Linked DNA regions of Homo sapiens: all the other regions are linked to region 2. The links are contacts of gene promoters, found by promoter capture Hi-C in blood cells and fetal thymus (Javierre and others, 2016). All regions are on one chromosome and are shown on one strand. The core of a region is centred on a gene start or on the middle of the fragment in contact, and the rest is flanking DNA. Distances in the headings are between cores, read along the strand shown.

Region 1 (3,208 bases), core at 215-2,714, 750 kb after region 2:
CACATGTGCAGTTTTGTTACATGAGTATATTGCATAACGCTGAGGTTTAGAGTATGATTAATCCCATGACCCAGCTTGTGAGCATGGTACCCATAGGTAGTTTTTCAGACCCTTGCTCTTTTCTCTTATTCCCCCCTCTAGTAGTCTCCAGTGTCTATTGTTGCCATCTTTATGTCCATGAGTACCCAGTGTTTAGCTCCTACTTATAAGTGAGAGTATATACTATTCAGTTTCCTGCTCCTACAATAATTCACTTAGGATAGTGGCCTCCAGCTGTATCCATGTTTCTGCAAAGGACATAATTTTGTCCTTTTCCATGTCTGCACAGTATTCTATGGTGTATATGTATGTACATTTTCTTTATCCAGTCCACCATTGATGGACACCTAGGTTGACTCTATCTCTTTGCTATTGTAAATAGTGCTGTGATGAACATATGAATACATGTGTCTTTTTGGTAGAATAATTTGCTTTTCTTTGAGAATATACCCAGTCATGAGATTGCTGGGTCAAATGGTAGTTCAATTTCTAGTCCTATCAGAAATCTCCAAATTGTTTTCCACAGTGGCTGAACTGATTGACATTCCCACCAACAGTGTATAAACATTCCCTTTTCTCTGCAGTCTCACCAGCATCTGTTATTTTTTGACTTCTTAGTAATAGCTATTTTGACTGGTGTGAGATGGTATTTCATTGTGGTTTTTTGATTTGCATGTCTCTGGTGATTAGTGATGTTGAGCATTTTTTCATACATTTGTTGGACACTTCCATGTCTTCTTTTGAGAAGTGTCTGTTCATGTCTTCTTTTGCTTGTTGAATTAAGTTCCTTCTAGATTCTGGATATTAGACCCTTTGTTGGATGCATAGTTTGTGAATATTTTGTCCTATTCTGTAGGTCCCAGCTACTTGGGAGTTTGAGGCAAGAGGATTGCTTAAGCCCAGAAGTTGGAGCTTCAGTGAACTATGAACAGCCACTGCATTCCAGCCTAGGTGACAGAGTGAGACCCTGTCTTTAAAATATATACATAGATAAAATTTAAAGATTCATGGTTTTCATAGTTAAATGCTTTGCATTAAAAAAATGCTTTTTTCATTTGGAAAAGTAAATATTATCTTATAATTATTTTCTTTCTTTAGTTCAACAACTGAAAAGTCTTTCACAGTTAAAACTGTCCTTATTTAGTGACAGATTTATAATTGACTCACATTTTTATTATTTTTAAAAGTATTTCAAAATTTAACTTTTTCTTTTGAATTTTCTAGTTGAAAATATAGTGCTTACGTTATCATAGTAAAGAATCAGAATATATTCACTGTATATATAATTATATTTTTAAAAAATAGATATAATGGGGTGTGGGTATAAACTAGAAGAAAAAACATTGTAATGTGATAACATCTGTAAAACTGAACCAACAATTTTCCCCCTTGAAGTTACCAGATAGTCTATAATGTAGCTATAGCAATCCTCTAGAGAAATAGTGTTTTTAAAACAGACAAAAATAGATCCTATAGATTTTCTTAATGTAATTTTCTGATCTTTTTCTTCCATCTGGTGGTCTCAAATTACAAATTATTTCCAATGTTTACTCAGTTACACAACTGTATACCAAGAGTTCCAGATGGCTTTTTACAACAAAGTTAAAGAAATGTTTCTGCTAAACACATTTTATGAAGGACTTCAAAAGACAAATGATGCAAATACATTTTGACAGAGAGACCTAACACTTTGGAATATGTAAATCTTTGTTCCTCTCTGGAGTATGTGGGAATGCTCTGTAACACTATTTAAATGATGACAAAATAATGTTGGGTATACAAACATAGTAGGGAATAAGAGAACTTGAATTCTAATCTCTCTTCTGCTCTAAATTGCTCTGCAATTTGAACAGTTTCTTAACCTATCTGAGCCTGTTGTCAGATGCAAAACCTGGAGAGCATGTTTCTCTCTCACATCACATTGCTGTTAGGCAAAGTTAAGGACTGCATTAATTAATGTTATTTTAACATTATTGGTTTTGAATCAGTAGCTAACCATCCAAAGAGAACTAGAATGTTAATTTGAAAAGTGTCTTATTAGCAGCAATATTAAAATGACCTAATTCAGTTGCACAAGTTTAATGGAAATTAGAATTGGAGAGAAAAGCAGCAAGTTCAAAAAGAAAGTAATAAAAAGAAGAAAATAAGTTGAAAAATACCACAGACTATTCAAAAGAAAGGCTCAGAGTTATTCAGAAATATTAGCTTTAATTAACCATAAAATGTATATACTAATTATCTATTAGGAAATTGTGCAGTGCAATAGGCTTGTCCAGATAATATCTACCCCTTCTAAGGATCTGCAAGCGAATTTTCTAAAATTCATGTATTCAAATAACTAATCTTTTGTAAAACAGTAATAATAATGCCACAGGTTTTTTGTTGTTCTTTTTTGTTTGTTTTTGTTTTGTTTTGTTTTGTTTTGTTTTGAGAGGGGGTTTCACTCTTGTTGCCCAGGCTGTAGTGCAATGGCACGATCTTGGCTCACTGCAACCTCCGCCTCCCGGGTTCAAGTGATTCCCCTGCCTCAGCCTCCCAAGTAGCTGGGATTACAGGCACGCACCACCACTCCCAGCTAATGTTTTGTAGTTTTAGTAGAGACAGGGTTTCGCCATATTGGTCAGGCAGGTCTCAAACTCCTGACCTCAGGTGATCCGCCCGCCTCGGCCTCCCGAAGTGCTGGGATTACAGGCGTGAGCCACCACGCCTAGCCCACAGTTTTTTTTAAAGTATTACTTAAAGTCTTACAAAAAGTGTTGCTATTGTAATCAGATTGAGAATGTGTTTTTGGAGGCTTAACAGGCATCTAGCATATTGCTGTCATTCTTTTACTAAGACAATATCATTAACAGTGGCTTAAGTTGATATGGTCTGCTATCTTTTTCTATTCATACATAAACATGCAGCCTTTTGTTCATGGATGCCCGTTCTGTTAGCCTGTTGTAAGATCCCAATTTATGTTCGTGGAACTGAATTGAGCTAACTATACAGATCTTTGACTACCACTTAGTACAGAGGCTTGTGCATAGAAAGCTATCCAGTTTAAATACGGGCCAAAAGTCCTGCAGAATTGCTGCTGCTTCTTGCAGACAATTATTTAAACATCGAATGCGTTTTAAATGGTGTATAACTTATAAGGCAAGAAATTTATAAGTAATACAATTTCTAT
Region 2 (3,243 bases), core at 713-3,212:
ACAGAATGCCATAGGCTAGGGGGCTTAAACAACAATTATTTCACAGTTCTGGAGGCTGGGGAGTCCAAGATTAAGATCCTGGCAGATTTCATGCTTGGTGAGGGCCCTCTTCTCAGTTTGCAGATGGTGGCCTTCTTGCTGTGTCCTCACAATGCAGAAAGGGAGAGAGAGCCAGAGATCGAAAGCTCACTGATCTCTTGCTGTAATGGCACTTATCCCATCATGGGGGCCATACCTTCATAACCTCACCTAAACCTAATTACTTCCCATGGTCCTGTCTTCTAATATTAGCACATAAGGGAGTCAGGGCTTCATCATCTGAATTTGAAAGAGACACAAACATCCAGCCTATATCAGTAAGGTTGTGAAACACCACTTCTATTTTGTTATTTAACAAATATTTACATAACACTTTACATGCACTGATGGTTTACACATATTAACAATCAATACTTCTAACAACCCCGTGAGGCAGGCACTATTATAAGCTCTTCTACAGGGGAGAAACATGAGCAAATAAAGCATAAATTACCAAGGGTCATGAAGCAAGTTAGTGGTATGGCTGAAACTTCAGCCCTGACATCCTTATCAAGTGATCTCTACAGCTGCAGCATCCAGGGAACACTCTATTCCTAAGGTAGTCCCACTTCTTCATCCTCGTGCCACTCCCAGCCCTTCTCATAGCAGTGGCAGAATATCTCCATATCCCTGAAGTCTGCATCCACCAGGAAGAATTAAGACAGAGTATTGTAGGCCTACAGCTTAATTTTTAAAGAGAGGGGGTCATTGAAATTGATGATGAAAAGTCAGTAATCCAGTGAGAAGGCATCAGCTAAACAGGCTTGGAAATGCTTTATTGACATTCCTCTAGAACTAAAATTTCCTCGATAGCTGTTTCTCTAGAGGGAACCAATCCCAGGATGCTGGTAAATACATATGGCATGGAAATGCAATTATGTTAGCAATCTAGTATGTATATATCAGACATGTCTGCTTGTGCTTAGAGTAGTAAACAAGCGGAGTCTCATTCCCTGCTCCTTTTCTGGTGGTGTCTATGGCCTTTTCTGCCCAGGGACAGCACTAGAAAAGGCAGACCTCCTGAGCCCAACAGGCCCCTCGCAGCTCCCAGTGACTTCCATGGATCAAAACACAGACTTCCATACAACAAAAAATTGATGCTACTGGAATTACTAGAGTTCGAGATGTTCCAAGATTTCAAAGAGAGAAAGGATGGGGGATTGCAACACTGTTAACTAAAATAAACACTGAATTGACCCTTGGCAATGGTCTGTTCCCGCACCCAACACCTGGCTCCACTACGTTGAAACACACACACACACACACACACACACACACACACACACACACACACGTGATATTTGCTTTTAAGATCATAAAACACCAGGAAGGAGACAAAAGCTCTTATGCGTCATCTGAGATGACACATGTACTGTTAAAGCGTGCGTTTATTTCAAACATTAATGAAATTTGCAGAACCCAAACTAAAGAGAGAGGATAGATAAGACATGCTGCAGTTCTTGCCCTAACTTTCAATCCCAACAACTGAAATGTCTTCCAGAGAAGTAACTCCCCCCGGTAAGGATGTAGCGCGGTCCCTACGTGGGTCTAAGGGATCTGACCCACGACGCACTGCACTGGGTTCACGAAGCGCCTCCTCGCAGGCGGTTATCTCGGTATCTCTGAGAGCGGCGGGCTCTCGCTCCCGCTCCAGGGATTCGGGGCAGAAAGAGAACATCCCACAGTTGGCGGGAGTTACGCAAGACAGTCAGACCCGGACGTCACTCGTGAGTGCCCCGACCCCCCTCCACCCCAGAGGCGGGGCCATCGCCTTCCTTCCGAACTCGGGATCGATCTGGAGCTCCGGGAATTTCCCTGGCCCGGGACTCCGGGCTTTCCAGCCCCAACCATGCATAAAAGGGGTTCGCCGTTCTCGGAGAGCCACAGAGCCCGGGCCACAGGCAGCTCCTTGCCAGCTCTCCTCCTCGCACAGCCGCTCGAACCGCCTGCTGAGCCCCATGGCCCGCGCCACGCTCTCCGCCGCCCCCAGCAATCCCCGGCTCCTGCGGGTGGCGCTGCTGCTCCTGCTCCTGGTGGCCGCCAGCCGGCGCGCAGCAGGTGGGTCCCGGCGCCCTGGGGTCCCCGGGCCGGACGCGGCTGGGGTGGGCGCCCCGCGCCGACAGCCCCGCTCAATCAGCGAGTCTCTTCTTCCCTAGGAGCGCCCCTGGCCACTGAACTGCGCTGCCAGTGCTTGCAGACCCTGCAGGGAATTCACCTCAAGAACATCCAAAGTGTGAAGGTGAAGTCCCCCGGACCCCACTGCGCCCAAACCGAAGTCATGTAAGTCTCGCCCATCGCTGCCGCTGCCACTGCTGGGGTCCCCGACTCTCCCGCTGCCCCAAACCCTGTCCTCAGCCCGACCTCCTGTCTCACGAGATTCCCTTCTCTCTGCAGAGCCACACTCAAGAATGGGCAGAAAGCTTGTCTCAACCCCGCATCGCCCATGGTTAAGAAAATCATCGAAAAGATGCTGAAAAAGTAAGTTATAATTTCCATGTACACAGGCGACTGGAGCTGTTGGTCAGAAATACTGGCGTCTGCCCCCTAAAAAGTAAATCAGGAAAACCCAGGGTTAGCTGCAGGACTGAAAAAATTATTATTTTCACAAAGTTGCCATTAAGGTTATTAATCTGTTCTGGTGCCAGAGGATATTCCCAGTGCCCAGGGTCACCACCCAGGTTCTTCCCTCCTGCCAGTGAATGTAGGTAAAACTGCTTTCATGTAAGGTCTCATTGGAGTTTGCCAGTTGTGCTGAAGTGTTTTCCACCTGTTAAAAAACACAAGCTTCATTTCCCCTAGTTCCTACTGACTTTCAGACCTGAAAAGCAGACCCCCTGGTTTTTTGTAAAAGTTTAGGGTTGAAGTGCAGAGATTTCACAATAATATTGCACTGGGTATATAACTGGTTGCCACCACCTATTAGCCATGTCACTCAGAGACAATATTATTTAGTTTATCTGAGACTCAGCAAAACAGGGAAAATAATGGTAGCTACATCATGAGGTTGCTTTGAGGCTCAAGTGAGGCCCAGTATGACAAAGAGCAATAGGCTCTGGCTGTTTTAGCCAGTAAAACAGTGTAGACTGCCACTCCTCCACCCCACGTCACCCCCATTCCTAAAAGAGCATCCCAAGCCTAGAGGTCCTTGCCACACAGCACAGCTGT
Region 3 (3,086 bases), core at 197-2,696, 530 kb after region 2:
AAAAAAGTAACAAGCACATGCAAGCACAGAGTTCTACCAAATGCAAAAAATTTCAAATCAATTATTCAAATGAGACATTAACATCACTTCTGTGGTAGTTTTATATCCATAAAGTCTGATTCTTCTCCTTTGAAGAGATGAAGCTTAATCTTCCTCATCCTGAAAATGGGCTGGACTTAGTGACTTACGTCTTTTTATTTTATTTTTAATTGACAAATAATAATTGTATGTATTTATGGGGTACAATATTATATTATTATATATGTATACATTATGGAATTATTAAATCAAGCTAATTAACATATCCATAACCTCTTATAATTTCTTTGTGGTGAGAACATTTAAAAATGTACTCTTTTAGCAATTAGGGACTTACTTTTAATACAGGAAAATGGAAGAGACTGTGAGACTTTGAAGTAGGTCATAAAAGTCACTGTGGCTTCCTCCTTGCTCTCTCTTGGACCACTTGCTCTGGGGGAAGTCAACTGCCATGTCCTGAGCAGCCCTGGAAAGACCTACATGATGAAGAACTGAGACCTTCTATCAAATGCCAGCAGGGAATTGAGGCCTCCTGTCAACAGCCATTTTAGAAGTAGATCTTCCAGCCTCAGTCAAGCCTTCAGATGACTGCAGCCCTGTCTAATAGCTTGACCGTAATTTCATGAGAGACCTTCAGCCAGAAAACCCAAGGAAACCATTCTGGATTCCTCATCCTCAGAAACTGTATGAGATAAGAAGTGTTTGTTGTAGTACGCCGCTAAATTTGGGGCAATTTGTTACATAGCAATGTATAGCTCATACAATTTCTGGGAAAAAAATAGTTTATTTTCGAATCATTTTTGCATAATGCAAGAATATAAACTTGTCACAGAATAATTTATCCTTGTTTTAGGTGGTCCAAATATTTCATTGTCAGTTATATATTAGCTCAAATTAAATTTTAGATAATATATATTATTATTAATGGTAAAGAATGTGTCACATTTATCTTTATAGCTTTTCTGTACCTAATATTGTGTCTTGTGCGTAGGATGTGCTCAATAAAAATTGATTGAATAAATAAGTGAATGAAAGAATAAATGAATGAGTGAAGGAATTATCTGAAATATTTTTATAAAATTCCCCATATGTATGTATTACTTATTACAAGTCTGGTCCCATAGCTGAAAAAATATTAAACATTATATATATATATATGTTTTTCCCTGATATAGTGGTATATTTTATTATCTCTTGGCTCTACTATGAAATATTCAGTTAGGTGTCATTACTGTTTAATTTGGTTTAGGGCTATTTAGATTGGTTTTTGAAACTGAAGGGGAAAGAAGCCCCTTGCAATGCAATTGATGAAGTGATAAAGACAGCAGGTATAACTATTAGGTGGAGGCATATATATGGGAAAGAACAAGAAATAGGATGTAGTTACAGAGGGCAAAACCTTTCAATGACATTCATTTGTCTTCTAAATTAATAACATCTAATACCTATTAGATTGAGCCATTTGAAATTGCCAATATTTGACCTACAAAGGCAATGATTTCATATTGTTCAAACTAATAACAACTTATTTGCTGGGCACTACGTTTAATATTCATTACAATTCCATAAGGAAATTATTCTTTCAACCTCATGCTACAGATAAAGAAAGTAAGCCATGGAGCAGTTAGGAGATTTGCCAAGGTTTTTAGTAGAAGAAATAGGTAGGATTTAAACTTATGGCTCCAGAAGCCATACAGTTAACCACCATAATCTGTGGCTTCCCCCGAACTATGCTTCCCGAATCTGCCATTCTAAAATGTGTCCTCATTTTTAAGTGGAATAATAGTACCTACTTCATTGGACAGTTGGGGGAGTTACAAGAATAGCACATGTAAAGCCTGGCACTTTGCACATAAGAATGTGATAAATATTAGCTATGTTATAATTAAACTTCAGTATATTCCCCAACCACCATCGTAGCCTTATCTTCTACTAAGACTTACTGCCCACAGCTATGTCATTTTTGTCTTAAAACCAGCCAAACTAAATCACTCAGCCTTCCCTGAAACACTGCACACTTTAGCACATCTCTTTCTGTTGAAACATTCCCATTTTCTAGTCCCTGGTTAGGGTCCCTTCTTCCATTACCTTTCCTGGTCTCTGTAACAATGTGTGATCTCAAGCTCCTGTGTACCACAGTTTCAGTTAGCTCTGCTCTTGTGACACCAGAATTTTGAAATTTGCCTTTTATTATAATTCTTTATGTGCTTATATCTTGTATAAATGCATTAGTGATCTGGTGAAATCATATTCATATTTGTATTATTCCTTGTAGTATCTAGCACAGTGTATTGAATGCATTAGGTACTCAGCAAATGTTTATTGGATCTAATTCACTAATGCATATGAATGTGTTGAAGTCACTGAAGTGAGGAAAAATAATTAAACTCAAGGAAAGGGTATTAGAATGATAATTAATTTTTTTATAGTTCTCTAATCAAAATAATTCATTTATTTAAGCACTTAGTTTTACTTTATCTTTTATACAAAAATATCTGGAAAAATAAAAACAAGTCCAAATGATACCCATCAGTTCTTTATGTCTTTTGCAGAAAGATTTCCAAAGAAAAAAAGTACTATCACAAATAATCACTTCAAGCTCAAATTAATTTAAGTGCATTATATTGTATTGGTGCCAATACAGCATCACATATTTAGGGTAAAGATTAAAGGTGAAACCTTTAGGAAGGTAACTTTATTATGAAGCTTATGATTAGGAAGGTAACTTTATTATGAAGCTTATTTCATTCAGTTTGGCAATAAACATTTTCAGTATTGGCATAGACAAAAACTCCAAGTTGCTTTTAGGGTTTTGTTCACTGTGGAAACTTGGCAGACAATTCCCAGCTTGGTGTGAGAGCCCATCACATCTACCTGAGCCCTTTGAAAGCTGTTTGATTTCATGTTTCTGTTTCTGCTCTTGAGAAGAAGAAAGCTTGTTGTTGAGAGAGAGGGGTAATTACGGTGGGTTTTCTGAGGGTTACAATAATTAGATTTCTCTGCTGGGTAAGAAAGGACAATTTCAGTGTAGACTGGCCAGTGTTCTT

The links. Contacts are between HindIII fragments. The CHiCAGO score rates a contact against its expected background, and 5 or more counts as called.
Region 1: a fragment that was not itself captured here is called in contact with the fragment with the promoter of CXCL2 in region 2 in 1 of 17 cell types (fetal thymus); the score reaches 5.2 in fetal thymus.
Region 3: a contact is called between a fragment that was not itself captured here and the fragment with the promoter of CXCL2 in region 2, in 3 of 17 cell types (fetal thymus, neutrophils and megakaryocytes). The highest score is 10.9, in fetal thymus.

Annotation. Positions count from the first base shown.
Region 1 is chr4:73,346,123-73,349,330 of GRCh38, reverse strand. The region is part of intron 3 of ANKRD17-DT (ANKRD17 divergent transcript); the gene reads right to left. Among named protein-coding and RNA genes, the nearest start is that of ALB, 57 kb to the left of the region's middle. The HindIII fragment of the contact is 8,702 bases long and covers 1-3,208 here.
Region 2 is chr4:74,097,914-74,101,156 of GRCh38, reverse strand. It overlaps CXCL2 (C-X-C motif chemokine ligand 2), which reads left to right and starts at 1,962. Exons shown (of 4, transcript NM_002089.4): 1 at 1,962-2,136; 2 at 2,235-2,358; 3 at 2,473-2,556. The coding sequence starts at 2,037. The HindIII fragment of the contact is 3,135 bases long and covers 1-2,500 here.
Region 3 is chr4:73,569,658-73,572,743 of GRCh38, reverse strand. It overlaps RASSF6 (Ras association domain family member 6), which reads left to right. Exons shown (of 11, transcript NM_177532.5): 11 at 1-1,194. Among named protein-coding and RNA genes, the nearest start is that of RASSF6, 49 kb to the left of the region's middle. The HindIII fragment of the contact is 2,602 bases long and covers 146-2,747 here.